Regions from separate parts of the Homo sapiens genome. Here regions 1 and 2 are each linked to region 3. Evidence: promoter capture Hi-C in 16 types of primary human blood cells and fetal thymus (Javierre and others, 2016). All regions are on one chromosome and are shown on one strand. The core of a region is centred on a gene start or on the middle of the fragment in contact, and the rest is flanking DNA. Distances in the headings are between cores, read along the strand shown.

The links. The method cuts DNA at HindIII sites, captures the fragments that hold promoters and counts their contacts. A CHiCAGO score of 5 or more calls a contact.
Region 1: a contact is called between a fragment that was not itself captured here and the fragment with the promoter of CD58 in region 3, in 1 of 17 cell types (activated CD4 T cells). The highest score is 5.8, in activated CD4 T cells.
Region 2: a fragment that was not itself captured here is called in contact with the fragment with the promoter of CD58 in region 3 in 1 of 17 cell types (non-activated CD4 T cells); the score reaches 5.6 in non-activated CD4 T cells.

The regions. Positions count from the first base shown.
Region 1 is chr1:117,085,926-117,089,827 of GRCh38, reverse strand. TTF2 (transcription termination factor 2) reads right to left here. Exons shown (of 23, transcript NM_003594.4): 12 at 3,306-3,411; 13 at 846-1,027. Among named protein-coding and RNA genes, the nearest start is that of MIR942, 6.8 kb to the left of the region's middle. The HindIII fragment of the contact is 4,715 bases long and covers 1-3,902 here.
Region 2 is chr1:117,103,175-117,107,141 of GRCh38, reverse strand. TTF2 (transcription termination factor 2) reads right to left here. Exons shown (of 23, transcript NM_003594.4): 23 at 1-3,967. Among named protein-coding and RNA genes, the nearest start is that of MIR942, 11 kb to the right of the region's middle. The HindIII fragment of the contact is 5,602 bases long and covers 1-3,967 here.
Region 3 is chr1:116,568,853-116,572,406 of GRCh38, reverse strand. CD58 (CD58 molecule) reads left to right here and starts at 1,381. Exons shown (of 6, transcript NM_001779.3): 1 at 1,381-1,504. The coding sequence starts at 1,435. It overlaps LOC124904385 (a long non-coding RNA gene), which reads right to left and starts at 1,432. Exons shown (of 2, transcript XR_007066497.1): 1 at 1,354-1,432. RefSeq lists silencers at 1,180-1,639, 1,710-1,779 and an enhancer at 2,250-2,309. The HindIII fragment of the contact is 6,609 bases long and covers 1-3,554 here.

The DNA.
Region 1 (3,902 bases), core at 365-2,864, 520 kb before region 3:
CCTACGCTGTCACAACAAGACATATAACCAACAGCTAGAATTTGTTCCTAAAGCTACAGGAGCTAAGAAAGAAATTTCACATCCTCTTATGGCTGACTCGAATAAAAATAAGTATTTTATTTTTAATTTTTTTCTTTAGAGACTGAGGTCTTGCTCTGTCACCCAGGCTGGAGTGCAGTGGCATAATCATAGCTCACTGCAGCCTTGAACTCCTGGGCTCAAGCGATCCTCCTGCCTCAGCCTCTCGAGCAGCTGGGACCACAGGTGTACACCCCTGTGCCTGGCTAATTTTTTAATTTTTTGTAGAGGTGGGGTCTCATTTTACTCCCCTGGCTAATCTTGAACTCCTGGCTTCAAGCAATCCTCCCACATCAGCCTTCCAAAGTGTGGAGATTACAGGTATGACCCACTGCACTCAGCCAAATGGAAATATTTTAAAATCAACATTCTTTTTTGTTTGCTTCAAATAAATTGTAGTGCTAGCCCTAGACCATATGTTTTAAAGCAGAAGTAGCCGAAAACATTCACTGGACTTAAGAATAATTTTTGCATATATATATATATATAGCATATATTTGCATATATTTTGCATATATTTTGCATATATAAAGTCCTATATTTTTGCATATATATATAAGGGCTGAATGTAATCAAAGTCCTATATCAACCAATCAACAGCTATTTTCTCATAAATATTTATTCTTTTGTCCTTTAAAGGTTGACAGGCCTGCCATCTCCTAAACAAGATAATCTGGCACATACTAAGGCTTTATTATGAGACATGAAATAATGATGAAGGGATACAGACAGGGTTCATATTTACACAATCACGAGAAGTTACTCACTTCAGCAGCGAATACATATCCAATAAGTTGTTTTGAATGGGGGTTCCAGTGACAGCCCAACGGGCACAGGCTTGTAGCTTACACACAGCTATGGAAGTCTGCACTCGGGGATTCTTAACATTGTGAGCTTCATCCAATATGATTCGAGCCCAGGCTATTCGAAGCAAAGGTGTTGAGGTGCCCTGGAAGAATCACAAGTGAAATCCAGCCACAATATGGGAAAATGTACATGTCCTTAAGGACACAAGGGGAAATAGCAGGCAAGCATGGAGGACCCACATTTACCTTTAAATTTGCTTAGCTCAGGTACACTGAAATAAGAATTAAGAAACCCAAGAGTAAAACGTCTCAACTGGTTCAAATAAGTTATTTGAGAGTCTCAGTCTTTGAACATAAGATGTCTAAGAGTAAAATGTTTTCAAATTTGGGTTTCCTTTTTTTTTTTGAGATGGGAGTCTCGCTCCGTCGCCCAGGCTGGAGTGCAGTGGCGAGATCTCGGCTCACTGCAAGCTCCGCCTCCGGGCTTCACGCCATTCTCCTGCCTCAGCCTCCCGAGCAGCCGGGACCACAGGCGCCCGCCACCACACCCGGCTAATTTTTTGTATTTTTAGTAGAGTCGGGGTTTCATCGTGTTAGCCAGGATGGTCTCGATCTCCTGACCTCGTGATCCACCCGCCTCGGCCTTCCAAAGTGCTGGGATTACAGGCATGAGCCACCGCGCCCAGCCGACTTTTCTTTTATTCTTTAAATACACACTTAAGCAATGGCTGTAGACCATGACTACACCAGGCATTGAACCTGCAAATTCACTCACTCAATAAAACATTTACTAAATTTTACTAAATTTACTAACAATTTTCCAAAAGTCTACTTTTAGATGTGAGATGCTAAACCAGATATAAAAAACAGTTCCTACCTGCAAGAGCTCAAAATCTAGCAGGGGAGAAAAACAAGTGTAAAGATAATTACAATACGATATAGATATAGTAAGTCCCACTGGCTAGTTCAATACCTGAAGTGGGAATCTGGCTGCTCTTGACGAAACAGCACCTGACCCATAGTGGATACTCAACGTCTGCTGAAGAAACAAAGTGCTATAACTTATGTAAGCACAAGGTGCTGGCAGAGGCATTCAACCAAACCGGGGGAAGGTGGGAAGGGAGTGGTCCAGAAAAGATTCTTGAAGCAGGTTTAAAAAAATTAACCTGGGAGAAGGAGTGGAGGCAAAGCGTTTCATTCGGAGGGAGAACAGACACAACACTGTGACAGAGCATGGTGGGAACTACAGATCCCTTGGTATGACTGAGCAAGAGGTGCCCCAGGGAGGGGCAGGGTGTCATCAAGAGATGAGCGACATACAGGTAGGGCAAGATCATAAAGAGCCTAATATGGCCAGGCATGGTGGCTCATGCCTATAATCCCAGCACTTTGGGAGGCCGAGGCGGGTGGATCACTTGAGGTCAGGAATTCGAGACCAGCCTGGCCAACATGGCGAAACCCCATCTCTACTAAAAATACAAAAAATTAGCCGAGCATAGTGGCGGGCACCTGTTATCCCAGCTACTTGGGAAGCTGAGGCAGGAGAATCGCTTGAACCCGGGATGCAGAGGTTGCAGTGAGCCAAGATCGCACCATGCACTCCATCCTGGGCGACAGAGTGAGATTCTGCCTCAAATAAATAAATAAATGAAGCCTAATACATCATGAAAAGAAATTTAGGGTTTATCCCAAAAGCAATGGAAAACCAGTGAGCAATCTGAAAAGTTCATCATCTATAAGTCAGAGTTGGTTATAAGCTGGAGAAATGTTCTAGAGATCTCTCCAAATACAGAAACCTGTGAATATCCCGTTGGGCTAAAAGGATAACATATAGAAAAATGAGTTCTTGGGATAATACTGTATTTTCAGAGTATAATTACATGATAAAGCCTCTACATCACATAACTGAGGCTGCCCTGGACACCCTAGAAGACCATCACGTATTCACAATTGTCACTTAGCCTCTGGCCTTATTATTTGCAACCCTTTTTTTTTTTCTGGGAAGTAAAGGGAGGCAGGGAAAGATGGCTTAAAATCAAAATACTAGTAGTAAAATACTAGTCTGCACAATAAATATTAAAAATATCATGAGTATATACCCCAAATACTCTAAAATAAAAATAGCAACAAGTAAGGCTTTTATATATTCAGGTGATTATTACCCCCACAAATACAATGCAGTCATCTTTCATTCTAAAAGGCAGCTGAATCCTGTGGCATAGGTTGATCTTTATCACTGAGGTGGTTGTCTGGAATAAGGGTGATGGGATAGAGGAAAGAACAATTCCTTTCCACATGCGGATCATTTACAGCATTCCTGACCTCCAGGGAGGTCCTCTTGCTATCGTGGAGGCTGAGAAAGACTCCCATTAAACCATCTGTGGCTCCAACTCCACTTCCCTGGCTGCCCCCCAGCCTCACCTCCACATTGAGGTTTGCACCTGGGATCTCTGCCTCTTGCTTGTTTGTGGGAATCTCCTTGGCCACGAGGCTATAGGTAGTGATCACGATGTCATATGTAGAGAGGCTGCGTAGACATAACAAAGAAATCAATAAATGGTCCCACTATAGAGGGACAATGAGAGAGGCAGAGTTGATCTTTCAATAAAAATGCCTACAAATGGAAGGACAAACAGCAGAACTCATTAACTTGTGTCCTTAACACACACACGCACACACACACACACACACACACATTTTGGAGGTAAATTTTACCCACTTGGGTTTCCCTATCTCTTACCTCTGATCATTTACCGTCTGCTCACTATAGCTACCACAGCCTCCCTCTTACCATCCAGTGAGTCAGAAAGAAAATTCTCTGGCTGGGATAATATAATGCTTAATATGATCTGGCCAGAACAGAAAGTAGGATAGAGTTGGGAAATAACAGAAAGTAGGATAGAGTTGGGAATTAACATTTAATAATGATTTGAGATGGATGACACCAAAGTCCCAGGGGAGAAAGATAACTTCAAAACACTGTTCACCTTGTATCAATGGTGCTTTCCTCCCACCACT
Region 2 (3,967 bases), core at 1,256-3,755, 530 kb before region 3:
TGAGGCAAAAAAAGAGTGGGAGGATTTAGGAGCTGTCCCCAGTGTAACAAAGTGCTTCAGAAATCACCTTTGAATTGTGAGCATTGAAGCGTCAACAAGATGCAGCATTATGATGTACGTTATGCCTCTGGTGTTACAGGTAAGAAAAAAGAGTCACAAATAAGAGCCTCTGTCCTCTGGGATGTTGTAACAGGATAAACACCTTGGCTGTCTTGGATAATAAACATACACATACCTGTCAGCCCACCCATACTCTAATGTCCCAAATGCAATAGTTGCTCAACTTTCCTCCAGAGAATGTATCCCTGTATGGTAGGTTTGGCTCAATGAAGAGGTGGTTCAATGAAGTGGATGCTCATTAGAAGCAGGCAGTATAGGAAGAAACATCTCACTCTGACTTGTGAGCTCTTACATATTGATTTCCATTCTTTCATCACTTCCTCAGATCTTCCCTAACTAGGTCAAATCCTGTTATAAGCCCTCCCAGCCGCACAGTCCTCTCTTGTAGCACTCAGCATCATGGCTGATTCACAGCCACACGGGGTTGACTAATGCCTGTCTCCCTTAGATGCTAAGCCTCAGGAGGACAGGATAGTTTTTCATTTTTGCTTACTTTTATATTTCCAGTGCCCAGCAGTGCCTGGCATATAAAAAGTGTTCAATATACATTTCTGAATTACTGTGTGGATAATTAAGCAAGAAAATAGTCTCATCCTTTCTGAAGTAGTCTCTACCTATTAATACATCTGGATTTAGCTATGGAATCTGGGTAAAAAGAACTCAAGATAGTAAAAACATTGTGTAGCTGCATATCTGTCGCCCCTCTTCCCTCCCTGGGAGTTAGGCTGGGTTTGCTTTTTTTTTTTTTCATATCTATCTCCATCCCCTAACTACTGACTTCTGTGGTAGTTTGTACTATAAATGACCCTGATTTCATTTGTAGTTATGAAGACATTTTAGTCTAGGTCATATGCCTAGGAATTCTGAATTTCTATTATAATTCTCTTTGTGCCTACAGATGTGCTTTTAAATTGTTCCTGCCCTTTCCTAAGTCTAGATGCTATATCACAAACAGCAGCACAATATCCCACTTTGGAAACCTAATTCTTTCAAGGTATTAGAGTTGACAGCAAAATTTCAGACAACCAGAGGCCACACTGAACACTGGTGTCTCCATGCTTATCCTATTAGTGCAGGAGAATCTGGCTTCACCTTTGAGCCCTGCTAAAAGCCATTTCATTGAGCAACAGACAATCAGAGCAAGGAAACAACTCAGTGTTCATGAATTGCCATGCTAAATCACTCACAGGATTGATAGAGAAATAAGTCACCTCCCATAAACAGAAAATTTTTTTTTTCTGTTTTTCCTTCTTTTCATTAGCAATTGTTCCAAAAACACTTACTCTGCTAATTTCTGCTAGAAAGAATCACCGTTCTTTCTCTGTGGCCCAGGCTGGAGTGCAGTGGTATGATCTCAGCTCACTGTAACCTCCGCCTCCTGGATTCAAGTGATTCTCCTGCCTCAGCCTCCCGAGTAGCTGCAATTACAGGCACCCAACATCACGCCTGGCTAACTTTTGTATTTTTAGTAGAGAGGAGGTTTTGCCATGTTGGCCAGTCTGGTCTCGAACTCTTGGCCTCAAGTGATCTGCCTGCCTCAGCCTCCCAAATGCTGGGATTACAGGTGTGAACCACTGCGCTGGGCCTGCAATGGGAGTCACTGACAAGGTTTTTAAAGGGCCCAGGACTCTGTCTAGCTGCGGCATGCACAATACTCCTATTTGATCAACATGGCTAAGGCAAAGTCAAACTACATACCTTCCATGAAGTCAATTCTGTCGAGTAAGAAATGCCTTATAAATCCGGTGCTCAGGAATGTTGCACTTTGGAGACAGATGTTCACCATCTGGTTCTCAGCTGCACCCATGCTGCTGCTGGTTCTCATATTCCCAGACCTTGTCCCACAGCAATAACACTAGCACTTGTGTGGCCCTTCATGGTTTTCAAAGCATTTATTACCTCATATCATCCATGCCCAAGTCAGGTGCAATAGGCAGATGTAAAAAGCAAATCCAGCAGCAGTATTGTGACATGAAGGAAGGCTGGTTAACACAGGCAGGACTCATAGTGCAGCACCTCAATTAGACCACTGTGTTGTGGGATGCTGCCCATCGCTAGAAGGTGCAAAGACCCACCTTGTCATACCTAGACTTGACGAAACTGATTTACACTAAAATGAATATGAGGCTGAGACAGATACCAGAATGCCACTTCTGTTAATTCATGCCTGTCTCCCTTAGATGCTAAGCCTCATGAGGACAAAACAAAAAAAACCAAACAAACCCAGCCTAACCCCCAGGGAGGGAAGAGGGGAGACACATATGCAGCTCCACAATGTAATTCATGTAATCCATCCCAGCACTAGGATTTAAGAATGCATGTTTAGTATATTCCATCCCATTAAGGCAGTGGTTCCATTTTTTTCTGCATCCACCTCAAGTCAGTAGCATCTCACGGCTATAAGAACACCTACCCAAGACATAACTAGGTTGCTTTGCTTATGTACAATAACATGAGAAATTAGAAAAGCTGTTTTAAAATACCAGGAGGCATCTACCTTACAGTAGATTACTTGTCAATGGCCTCAATATCTGAAGATTTTAAGTTACAATCCCTGCATCCCTCTCCAAACTAAAAGCCAGAATGCTTGAACCTGAAAGAATTCCTCTCCCCTAAACAATGCTTGATTGGAGACTGACAATGTTCATCTAATACCTTCTAGTTGACATTACTGATCTATCTGGTCAACCATGTTGTAGTATATATATTTGCTATGAAATTCCCAGTGGAGCATGAGATACATGCTAATCCACACATTTTACAGATGAAAGGATTGAGATGTCCAAGGAATCTGCAACTTGCCTAATATCAATCAGCAAATGGCAGAGCCAGGTTTGTACATTCTTGCTGGCCTGGGAGCCACTGCTTCTCAGGTGACTCAATCTTTACCTTGGTATGTCAATCTTATAGCAAAACTTCAAAAAGGCAATGTTACTTCCTTTGCTTCTTGATTTTATCAGAAACCTTATTGCTGCTAAGTTCTGAAAACTGCCCACCTTACAAATGAGGAAATCAGAGTGTAGAGAAAGTAAGGATTTTTTTCTCTCTCTTTTTTTTTTTTTTTTTTTTTGAGACGGAGTCTCGCTCTGTCACCAGGCTGGAGTGCAATGGCGCGATCTCAGCTCACTGCAACCTCCACCTCCCAGGTTCAAGCGATTCTCCTGCCTTATCCTCCCCAGTAGCTGGGACTACAGGCGCACGCCACCACGCTCAGCTAATTTTTGTATTTTTAGTAGAGACGGGGTTTCACCATGTTGGCCAAGATGGTCTTGATCTCTTGACCTCGTGATCCGTCTGCCTCGGCCTCCCAAAGTGCTGGGATGACAGGCCTGAGCCACTGCACCCGGCCAATTTTTTCAACGTTACACACCCAGCTAAGATGAACCTAGAACTAGAGTCAAATCTCAAACGTTCTAGACTAGAATTCTTCCCACCAGGCCATTGTCTTTACCTTTGTAAGCCTTTAAATCTTGTCCTTATAGAAAACTTCTGCTTAAATAGGCTCCGAATGCCTCAGTCCACACTCTGACTGGGTTAACATAGGGTCTTGTTTCCCAACTCAAGGGACAGAAATGTTTCTGTGTTAGAAGAACTGTGATTCTTTCTAGCAGAAATTAGCAGAGTAAGTGTTTTTGGAACAATTGCTAATGAGAAGGAAATCTGAATAGTTTCCTGAAGTATAAAATCTCAAGTGTTTGTTTAGGGTACAAACTGCTATGTAAACAACACAGAAATCTCAGTAGCTTAAAAAAAAAGATTCCTTGATCATGTCATAGTCCAGTGTAGGTGAGCTGGGGCGAGGAGGGAAGTGTACATGGGGAGCCATCCTGGGACTGAGGCTTCACTA
Region 3 (3,554 bases), core at 132-2,631:
GGCCTGAGTTCCTACCAGCCCAGGGCAGAGAACACTTGATTTCCTCATATTTTATGTTACACACTGCCCCTGCCTTGTGTTCCCAGTATCTACAGATGGTAGGGAATATCTCGAGATAGCAGGTTTGTGGTAGAGGGCATTGGTCCCAGAAGTTTCACTGATAGAGATACCTTTTAAGATTTTATGGCTAACTTAAGAAATAATTCATGTCTCTTTGCAATATGGTTCAAGTGTCTTGAGTGACTTCGAGTCCCCACCTGGGGATAATGGAGGTGAAGCAGCAAGAAAGCACATTCCCACTCAGTTTCACAACCTGCACCATGTATGTGTTGGTGGTTATTTGGGCAGCAGGGAGTCCTGTTCATGGAAATGGATTCCTGCTCACATAATAACTAAGAGTTCTGTGAACTCCCTCAGCTGGGCAGGGGCAACTCTGGTGCTTCTGTCTGCAAGAAAGGGGACAGACAGGGAGGCTGATGTGAGGAGCTGGTTCTGGGAATAGGGTCATTTGTTCTGGGATATAGGGATGTGAGGGGAGGGCCAGCTCAATCCAGACTGATGAAGAGCGGGGAGAGTGATGAGTGCCTGCCTCAGCTTGGGCTGGATGGATGTGGGGAGGCTGGGCAGTGAGGGAGATGTGGATCTGACATCTCAGCCTGAGGGAAAGTCCCGGTTGAGATGGGGGAAGACAGAAAAAGAGGAATCTGAGAAGGGAGAAACCAAAGGCTGGAAATCCCAGCTCCGGGGATAAGGGAGTATGGGGACGGGGGAGGCCTGCCTCAGGTAACCCTACGCCTAACAGTTGTCTAAAATGCTCCCTTTCCTTGTCATGTTTGAGGAAAAGTGGTTCAAAGAGGCCGTCTGATGCGGGATCACACAGCGCTGAAGGGATGAGGGGCCCCGGGTGCTCCCGCCCGTCCTGCTGCCTCCTCCGGTGGCTCTCTGGGAGCCACAGCCCCGTCTAGCCACGGAGGGGCCTACAGCACGCCCCAAACGCTAAGGGGAAGCGCGGGAGGTGCGGTAGGAAGGCAGAGAAACCTGGTTTTTAAAACCAAGCCATTTTCAAGGAAAGAATTTCTTACTTTAAAACCTTGGTTTTTAAAACCAAGCCATTTTCAAGGAAAGAATTTCTTACTTAAAAATAGCGTATGGAATGGCGGCGGAATGACGGGAGGGACCGAGCTGGGGGACTGGACGGCGCCCCGGGGACACAGGAAGGAGGCGCGCAGAGCCGAGGCCAGAGGCGCGCCCGGGGAGTGGAAGCGCGAAGACAAACGCGGCGCCGCGGAGGGTGGGGGAGGAAGGGCCGGGGCGGGCCGCCGGCTGCCAGCCCAGGGCGGGGCGGAGCCCTACTTCTGGCCGACCGCGTAGGCGGTGCTTGAACTTAGGGCTGCTTGTGGCTGGGCACTCGCGCAGAGGCCGGCCCGACGAGCCATGGTTGCTGGGAGCGACGCGGGGCGGGCCCTGGGGGTCCTCAGCGTGGTCTGCCTGCTGCACTGCTTTGGTGAGTGAAGCCTGCCCCAGGGGCCCCGCGCCGGCCGGCGGGTACTGGGCAGCACCCAGGCTGGGTGGACGCGCCGGGCTCGAGGCGGTTGCCGATCAGAGACGGGTGGGGACGGGTCGCTGTGGGCCGGGAACAACTCAGCCGTGGGAGCCTTTTCAGGAAGAGAAAGTTGTTATTTCATCGCCAGTGTCCCTCATGGAGTCAGCAAGGAACTGTGTGGCCTTAGGGAAGGACGGGCTCCGGCCCGCTAGCCTCTCCTGCGGGGCCTGCGCCCCCCCGCCGGCCCCCTCCCGAGCTCCAGTGACCAAGTTCCTTCCTGGGCTTCCCCAGTAACGTCGCTGAGCGCTTCAGCGGACTGCAAAATTTTTCCCAGCCGTGAACGCGCCCGGGACGGGGAGCGGGCGCGGATGCCACCTGCTCGAGGGCGACGCCTGCTGCCCTCCCCGCGCGGTGCCGTCCCCGCCCGCGCGGCGTCCGCCGTATCAGCAGAGAGGACTTTTCAGAATCGCCCCACAGCGAGGAGCGGGTAGGCAACTAGGAAGCCCAGTCGGCAGCGGCCTCACGTTGGGATTCCTAAGTGGTGCGACTCCTGCTCCTTTTTCCTCCCCTCAAATCCTAAAAACTAGTATCAGAACTGGTTCCATCCTCTCCGTGTGTTGTCAGCCAAGTCGTCACAACAACCTCAGGAAATAGGTCCCCTTCTTCCCATTTTGCCTCCCCATCCTCCTTCACCCTCCACACATTGGCCCCAGTCAGGCCATAGCAAAACCCCGGGAGTACAGCAGTAACCTCCCAGCGAGTTCAACTGTACTTGAGGGGTTCTCATGGCTGGCTCCTGCACCCCACTGCCAGCCCTCCAGCCCGTCCGTCCGTTTGCTCAGCGTCCGCTGCCTGCCCGGGAGGTGCGCGTGTGCATCTATGGAAGACAGCCAAGGGGGAGGGGTTGAGATAGACTCAAAAGTACCCGCACGATCAGATAAGTCAGTGTTGTAAGAGGCCTGGGCTGGGCGTGGTGGCTTACACCTGTCATCCTAGCACTTTGGGAGGCTGAGGCAGGTGGATCACTTGAGGCCAGGAATCGGAGACCAGCAGGGCCAACACGGTGAAAGATCGGCTCTACAAAAAATACAAAAATTAGCTGAGCGTGGTGGCGCATACCTATAGTCCCAGCTACTCGGAAGGCTGAGGTGGGAGAATCACCTGAGTCCCGGAGGCAGAGGATGCAGTGAGCTGTGATTGTGCCACTGAACTCCAGCCTGGGTGACAGAATATGACCTGTCTCAAAAAAAAAAAAAAAAAAAAAAGGTGAGCTGTGAGGGTACAGAGGGAAGAAGAAGGCAGTCTCTTTTGTGAAATCAAGTGTCTTTTGTGAAGCAGTCTTCATGGGAGGGAGGATATTTGAGCCCAGCCTTCAAGGACTGGTGATGTGTGGACATGTGATAATGTGGGAAAAGATTGCTGAGTGTCCCCTTAGGGAGTCTGGATTCTCTGAGCTGAGAGAGCTTCTCCTGGGCCTTACAGGATCAGGACCATGCGCCTGGGAAGAAGAATCTGTTAGCAACAAAGAGGAAGGCTGCAGTCAGGAGGAATTGGAGGCAGGGAGGCCAGAAGGCCAGGGTGGACTACCATCACAGGGCCCAAATAGCTCTGGGGAGTTCATGTGCGGGTGGCTGGGGAAAAGAAGAGATACAAACAGGGATTAATTGAATGGATGGGGTAACTCTCCTCCAGGCAAGCTGGTCCCTCATTCCCTGGCACCTTGGGTCACTGCTGCCTGTACCTGTGTTCTCCCTTCCACTGCAAACCCAGTTTGCCCAAGCTCCACCTCCAACAGATTATTTGAACTGTCCCTTCCTGGTGATCTCTCTCACCTAATTCATGTATTCATTCAGAAGTCATTTGATTCAGCAAACATGTATTTATAAACTGCTCTGCATAGGCCTTAAACTAAAGACAAGACTGAATGGGTATATCCCCTTTTGGGGACCCAAGCCTGCCTCATTAGGGAAGCTGCAAATGCAGTGATTAACAGCATCAGCTCTGGGGTCAG